Linked DNA regions of Homo sapiens: region 1 is linked to region 2. Evidence: promoter capture Hi-C in 16 types of primary human blood cells and fetal thymus (Javierre and others, 2016). All regions are on one chromosome and are shown on one strand. The core of a region is centred on a gene start or on the middle of the fragment in contact, and the rest is flanking DNA. Distances in the headings are between cores, read along the strand shown. Region 1 overlaps HK1 (hexokinase 1). Region 2 holds the start of VPS26A (VPS26 retromer complex component A).

What was found. The method cuts DNA at HindIII sites, captures the fragments that hold promoters and counts their contacts. A CHiCAGO score of 5 or more calls a contact.
Region 1: a fragment that was not itself captured here is called in contact with the fragment with the promoter of VPS26A in region 2 in 1 of 17 cell types (monocytes); the score reaches 5.7 in monocytes.

What each region holds. Positions count from the first base shown.
Region 1 is chr10:69,344,758-69,348,195 of GRCh38, forward strand. All of the region lies in intron 2 of HK1 (hexokinase 1), which reads left to right. Among named protein-coding and RNA genes, the nearest start is that of HK1, 28 kb to the left of the region's middle. RefSeq lists a silencer at 118-247. The HindIII fragment of the contact is 3,685 bases long and covers 1-3,344 here.
Region 2 is chr10:69,122,333-69,125,930 of GRCh38, forward strand. It overlaps VPS26A (VPS26 retromer complex component A), which reads left to right and starts at 1,846. Exons shown (of 9, transcript NM_004896.5): 1 at 1,846-1,948. The coding sequence starts at 1,946. RefSeq lists enhancers at 1,080-1,439, 2,304-2,810 and a silencer at 1,700-2,099. The HindIII fragment of the contact is 9,705 bases long and covers 1-3,598 here.

The sequences.
Region 1 (3,438 bases), core at 252-2,751, 220 kb after region 2:
CGGCAGACCCGCAGTTACTAGTTTGTGGAGGTGAATGCTGTGCTTGCTCCAGCGTGGCGCCCTCACAGGAATCCCCTGTTAGCTGTGTTCTGTGCTCTAGGGTGGGGCTCACCTGCTGTAGGCAGCAGAGGGAGGGAGAGCAGGAGGAAGTCAGGTTTCCCTTGGGGTTGTGAGTACACGACCAGTGAGTACAGCTTTCACACACCCCTGCGATTTCTTCCCTGCTCTCGAGGCTCTTATTTAAAGGAGTGATTTGGGGCATCTTGTATGCAGCCTGCAAAATGGACGCCAGGAAACTGCAGCTGTTGCAACTGATGTTCTTGAAAGATGGGCAAGTGGGAGTAGGCTGGTTGCAGCAGGAAAAGACCTCTGCTCTCTGCCTGCAGTCATCCTGAATGAGATTTGGACGCTGATAAAGAGGCCTTGTGCTGTTCACTGTGGCCACGGGTGGGGTCTACTTCATGCTCACATATTAGCATGTATATCTCTGATGTAAGCCTACTCCACCTCCACCCTTTTGTTTAGGTGTTGATTACTAGCACCTACTTCTAGCTTTTTAAGAACTACTGAAGAGATTCTGGCCATCAGAGTGAATAGACTGTGGTCTACCCTGGGTGTGTTCGCTTGTCTCTGGCTGGAGAAGAAAGAACTTTATATATAGTTCACTCTTGCTTTTTCCCAGCCATGGATGTCACCTACAGCCAGGAGCACTGGAACCTTTCCAGGATGAGGAGAGCTATGTAGCAGAGGCATGGCTCTGACTGCTTCCAGCTGAGAGAAGAGGAAGGAGCGGGGAGGGGAGGGGGTATGGGCAGCACCCAGGAGAGCACCTGCTTTGGCTTTGCTTGGGAGAGCTCAGAAGGCTACCTGATCCCTGCGAGGCACCTGGCCCTGTGTGACTGGCTCAGGGCAGACACAGGGGAGGAGACACTTTGCCTCCTACCCACTGGGCCCTGCTCTCAAGCCAGCTGTGTCCCAGGGACCTATGTCAGCAGGGGTGCTCTCCCTCTCCTTCACAAACTGTTTCCAGGATTGAGAGTCTCAAGGTGTGATCCAAGTGCAGTAGAAATCCAGCCATTTGCCATATTGGCTACTCCTCCAAACAAGGCTTAGAACTCATACTCATTTGTGAAATGTATTTTTCACCCCCTTTTAGAGATTCATAGAAACGGCACCCCCCCATTCCAAATATTTATGGGTGGGTTCAGTTCATGTGCCCCAGAGCCCACACTTCGCTTGCAATGGTCCCTACAGCCCCGCAAAGACATTGCTGTTGATGCTAAGGACTTGGATACCCAACCCCCAGTCCACTTCCTGCCCCTTCGTGTTGTGCCGGGCTTCTGTCTTCACCTCCCCCTGCCTCTTGGCTCCTTTATCATCCAAGAATCAGGAGATCCCTGCAGTAATCAGAATCTGGGTCTCTTAATAGTAAATCCATAGTGCTGTTCCCTTTTTGAAATGTTAATCACTGCTTCAACTGTAGTAATTAGTGACAGAATTAGTGGTAATCCCAAACCACGGAGGGATAAATTGGCGCTCACCATGGTGGAGCAATGCCTAAGTGGTGATGTGATTTCCAAGGCAAAGGAAGGAAACAAGCCTTTCCTTTCTTGCTGACCTTGACCCTGGTCGACTAGACACAGAGTTTTGGAACTCAACTGACTTTCCAGAAGCATTTCTGAAAACATATCTGATACATACATTCTGATACCTATCAGCCCATTTTTAATTAGTTTCTTTCTTTTTTGGTCATTTTTTTTTTAATGGGCAGTGAGGTTTTTGTTTTTGGTATTTTGTAGAGATAGGGTTTTGCCATGTTGCCCAGACTGGTCTTGAACTCCTAGGCTCAGGCGATCCTCCCACCTCCCAAAGTGCTGGGATTACAGGCGTGAGCCACCTCACCTGGCCTGTTTTTATTTTTATTTTTTAGTTGTTCTTCAATAATCTGTATATCATTAAAAAAACCCCAAAAACCTAAAGTGGCTTTTTGCTGCTGCATATCATTTTTGAGGTAGTGGATGAATGAATAATAAAGAAGGAAAATATTGAAGCCTCTTAACATTGGTGATTTGGCTAAATAGAATTCCCTCTTCAAAGCTACTGTAGGGAGCAAGGGAAAACGTCCCCTTTGCCCTCTGAATGTTGGCTGAAAAATCAGCTCACAAAAGGCAGATTAATAGGAGAAAGGGCATACACATTTATTAACATGCATGTGGGAGAATCACAGACTGATTACTCAAGTATCCCGGTGGGGCCCAGATACTTACATTTCCTCTTTTCTTTTCCTTTTTTTTTTTGAGATGGAGTCTTGCTCTGTTGCCCAGGCTGGAGTGCAGTGGCACGATGGTTCAAGCGATCCTCCTGCCTTAGCACCCCCTACGTAGCTGGGATTATAGGCACCTGCCACCATGCCCAGCTAATTTTTGTATTTTTAGTAGAGACGGGGTTTTGCCATGTTGGCCAAGCTGGTCTCGAACTCCTGACCTCAGGTGATCCACCCGCCTCGGCCTCCCAAAGTGCTGGGATTACAAGTGTGAGCTACTGCGCCCGGCCACACATTTCCTCTTTTCAGAGGGGAGGCAGGAGACAGGGAACAGTAAATGATTACTAGGGAGAATGAAGATATCAGGGAACAGAGATTAACCAGTACCGGTTCTCTTTGGAAATTGAATAGGAGACAGATTTTTTTTTTTTTTTTAAGACAGTCTCGCTCTGTCGCCCAGGTTGCAGTGCAGTGGCATGATCTCGGCTCACTGCAACCTCCGCCTCCCGGGTTCAAGCAATTCTCCGGCTTCAACTTCCTGAGTAGCTGGGATTACAAGTGCGCACCACCACGCTGGGCTAATTTTTGTATTTTTAGTAGAGACGAGGTTTCACCATGTTGGCCAGACTGGTCTCGAACTCCTGACCTTGTGATCTGCCCGCCTTGGCCCCTCAAAGTGCTGGGATTACAGGTGTGAGCCACCACGCCCGGTTTAGGAACAGACATCTTTAAAAAGGTCCATTCAGGTGTGGTCAGATTCTTCAGTCTTCTTTTCTGCAATAGATAATGAGATAACAGGGAGGGTAAGGATAAAGTTCTCCTTGGAGGGTCTGCGTGGTCTTTATGCAGATAGGAGAAAAGCATTTTCCAGCATCTGTTGATCTTTAAGGGCCTTTAGTTCAAAATACTCATTATACCAGGGAGCCATATTTTGGGGTGAAGTATTTTGGGTTTCCCTCACTACCCAGTCTCTTGGGAATTGCTGTCCCTCTGTGCCCAGCCTCCCCCATTCGCGAAGTGTCCCTTTTTTCTCCTTTTCTCATTTATCCCTAAGGATATTGTAAGCACTAATTAGAGTGTAAGCTTTTGGAGGCTAAATAGGAATCGATACTTCTTGGTTTCGGCTTCATTGTTCCTACACAGCCTTTACCCAAAAGAGAAGTTTTTACCCAAAG
Region 2 (3,598 bases), core at 596-3,095:
CAGAGTAGCTCTCAAGGTGACAGGCAAATCTTCTAAGTGAAAAAAACCATTTTTCACTTTTATTAATTAAAGATTTGCATTGTTTTTGCTGCTTTCTTTTCACAGTTCAAACAGACAACAATATCAGTGTTACTATAGTTATTTATTTTTTTTGAGATGGAGTCTCGCTCTGTCACCAGGCTGGAGTGCAGTGGCGCAATCTTGGCTCACTGCAATCTCTGCCTCCTAGGTTTAAGTGATCCTCCTGCCTCAGCCTACCGAGTAGCTAGGATTACAGACGTGCACCACCATGCCCCGCTGATTTTTGTATTTTTAGTAGAGACGGGGTTTCGCCATGTTGGCCAGGCTGGTCTCAAACTTCTGACCTCAAGTGATCCGTCCGCCTCGGCCTCTCAAAGTGCTGGAATTATAGACTGTGAGCCACCATGCCTGGCCCAAATATGTGCATTTAAAGCTACAAATTTTCCTTTTACACAGTGTCACTGCATTCCACAAATTTGATATGTTGTATTATTATCTTTTATTTCAAATTATTTTATTTTTATTATTTTTTATTTTTGAGACAGAGTCTTGCTCTGTCGCCCAGGCTGGAGTGCAGTGGCTCCATCTCGGGCACTGCAACCTCCGCTTCCCGGATTCAAGAGATACTCGTGTCTGACCTCAGGTGATCCACCTGCCTTGGCCTCCCAAAGTGTTGGGATTACAAGTGTGAGCCTCCGTGCCCGGCCTCAACTTATTTTTAAATTTCCATTGATCTCTTCTTTGACCTAGAGATTTGGAATTATGTTGCTTAATTTCCAATATTTCCGGAATTTTCTGGCTTGTTTGGGTTGATTTCTAATTTTAATTCTATTGCGGTTAGAGATGATACTCTGATTTCAATCCTCTTAAATTTGAGGCTCACACTGAGGATTAAGTATAAAAAAATTTTTTTTGATACCTGTTTCATGGACTCGCCTCACAAACTTCTGTTTTAAGGTGGGGTAATTATAGTGCGTTCAGGGATGGATTTTTCTTCTGCTTTGGTTATGCATAGAGTGCACTGTGGCCCTTCAACACTATACTCTGAAATCCCACACAGTATTTTCCTCATCTGGAGGTCCTATAGGCTTACACTAGGGAGGAGGATCCAGTTCAGGCCAGCGTAGTCTTCAGCTGCGCCGTGGGACTTTCGGGGGAGCGCCTTTGCCCTCTCAGAACGGCTGGGCGGAACGGTGGGTTTGTGAGCCCTCCAGGCTCAGGGTGGGTCGCTCAGGGGCCATCTGGGGACTTTGGGAAGCAATGAAAGTTGTACCCTAGGATTTTTTTCTACTGGTCTTCTCTTCAGAGGCGAGAAAGCCAAGTTAAGAAAACCCAGACTCAGAAGGAGGTGGAGCGGGACTGCGTTCAGGCAAGGTGGCAGAACGCCTCGCCGTGGACGAAGAGAGCACATCTCTTCTTGCGAGGCCTAAGGAAGTAGGGCTCCCACTCGCCTCGGCAACCCAAGGACCCAGCCAAGGAGAGAGCCTCCAGATGAATCCTTCCTCTCCTCCTTCCTTCCCAGCCGCTCAAACTTTCACAAAGAGGAACTGGGTGCGGTAAAGAGGCCGGACACGGAACCGCTCGTCCGGTGACCGAAGAGACGGCGAGGAGGAGCCCGCGAACCCGCCTCTGTTCAGGCCCCGCCCACTCGACGTAATTTGCCCGCCCCTCTCCACCCTCCGAAGGGTGGAGCCTGAGGCCCCGCCTCCAAGCGGCCTCTCCCCGGAGTGCCTGGCGGCCAGCAGGGCGGGGCAGGAGGCTGGGAGAGGGACGGGTGCGGGGGTGGGGGAGAGGAAGGGAGCGGTCACGTGTGAGGGGCGGCCCGAGGTCACGTGACGGAGCGCCGGAGCGGAGGGAGCCGGGGCTGGGAGTTCTCCTGAGGGAAGAGGAGTGGAGTAGGGGGGACGCGGCGGCGGCGTTGACAATGGTGAGTGCGCGGCGGCCAGCGCGCTCGCCTCCCGCCCTCGTCCCGGAGCGCGCGGCGGGCCGGCCAACCGCGGGCCGGGCGTCGCCGGAGGAGGGGACGGGGGAGCAGGGCGGGGAGCGGGGTTAGGCCTGTCGGGCCACCCCTGGGTCTGGGAAAAGCTGGCGGCGCCACCTCTTCCCGGTCTCGGCGAGGCCCGAGCACCTACGGGCGGCGGCGTGCTCTCCTGGCCATGTCGGAGCCTCTGCCCGCGTTCTTCGACTGCTTGTTGGGGCTCTGGCTGGGGACTCGGACCCCGCCTCTGCGGGGGCTGGTCGCCGCCTCCCCTTCCTAGGTAGCCAGTCCCTGTTCTCCTCCCGGGCAGCCTCTCTTCCATCCAGGTGGGGCGACCCGGGAGCCCCCCACCTCCGGACTCTTCGGGGGACTTGGGCACTCAGTGTGTCACGAACTTGATAAACTCTGATATTTTAAAACCTGACTATGGTGACATTCTTTGATTTCATGACCCCAGTTCAGGCTTTCTGTTGACACTTGTAAAATGGGAGAGAAAAATAAAAGGACGTTGGAATGGGGGATATCTTTAACTCCAGAGACACCCGTTTGGTGCCCGCCGTTTTAAGCATTGGCTCTCATTTCCGTCCGCAAGCTATTTCGCTGAACTTAACGCTCTGGGTTGTTGAAACGGCCTATGAGGCAGAGGAGGGAGGGGAATCAGTGCTCTCACCACAGTCCGCGGAAGCACTAGCCTGGGCATTGTGGTATTTAGCTGGGTGTCGGCAGTCTCTAGGTTAGATCTCATTTTACCCATTTTCTGGTAGTAGTCGTCAGTTCTCTTCATTTAGCGCCTACTGTATGCTCTCCTAATACTACCTGCTCTTCCCAAAGCTCACTGATTCAATAGACTGCTTGAGACTTTTGGCTTAAAAGGCCGAGCCAGGTATATTTTTAAAAAGCTACTTTGAATAAATAACTTTTAATTTCAGTAATGATGTTGCTTTCAAAACAAAACAAAACAAAATCCAGACATTCATGTTCATTCTTAGAGCTTTTTTTCTTTCATTCAACAAATAATTGCTCAGGTGTGCCTAGGGGACCCCAGTAAAATGGAAACAGCGCCTACCTGCTCTCGTAGCTTACAATGTAGGGAGAGATAAACATTTATTTGTGTAAATTATTTGTTTAACGTGGAAATTAGAATTGTGACAGATACTAAGAAGGAAGTATTGGGGGACCTTGCCTAGTCAGTGTTAGGGCAGGCTTCTTTAATTGAATATCATTTGAAAAGAAAACTTAAAAGGTCCTCCTATTTTTTGCTTACATTTGTAATTATTACTTTTAATACGCTTTTTTGAATTATGTTCAAGAGCAGTTTATATTTTCAAGTTACCCAAACAGAAACTAAATTGTAAAACTTTAAAACACTGAAATGGTCACAGATGTAATATATGTATGAAAATTTGCTGTTTCATTGCTTGTGTATGGGCTAAGTGAATGAATTTTGAGAGTCAGCCTTCCACCTCAGAAATGCAATGAGTTGCATTTCTTTACATCCACTGGACTTAGTGAAATTCCTTCAGTGGGGACTAAAAAGTTGCCTTTTTATGTATCTACCATGTATTTTTGCTAATTGGTAATGCTCAATATTGGGTTCAG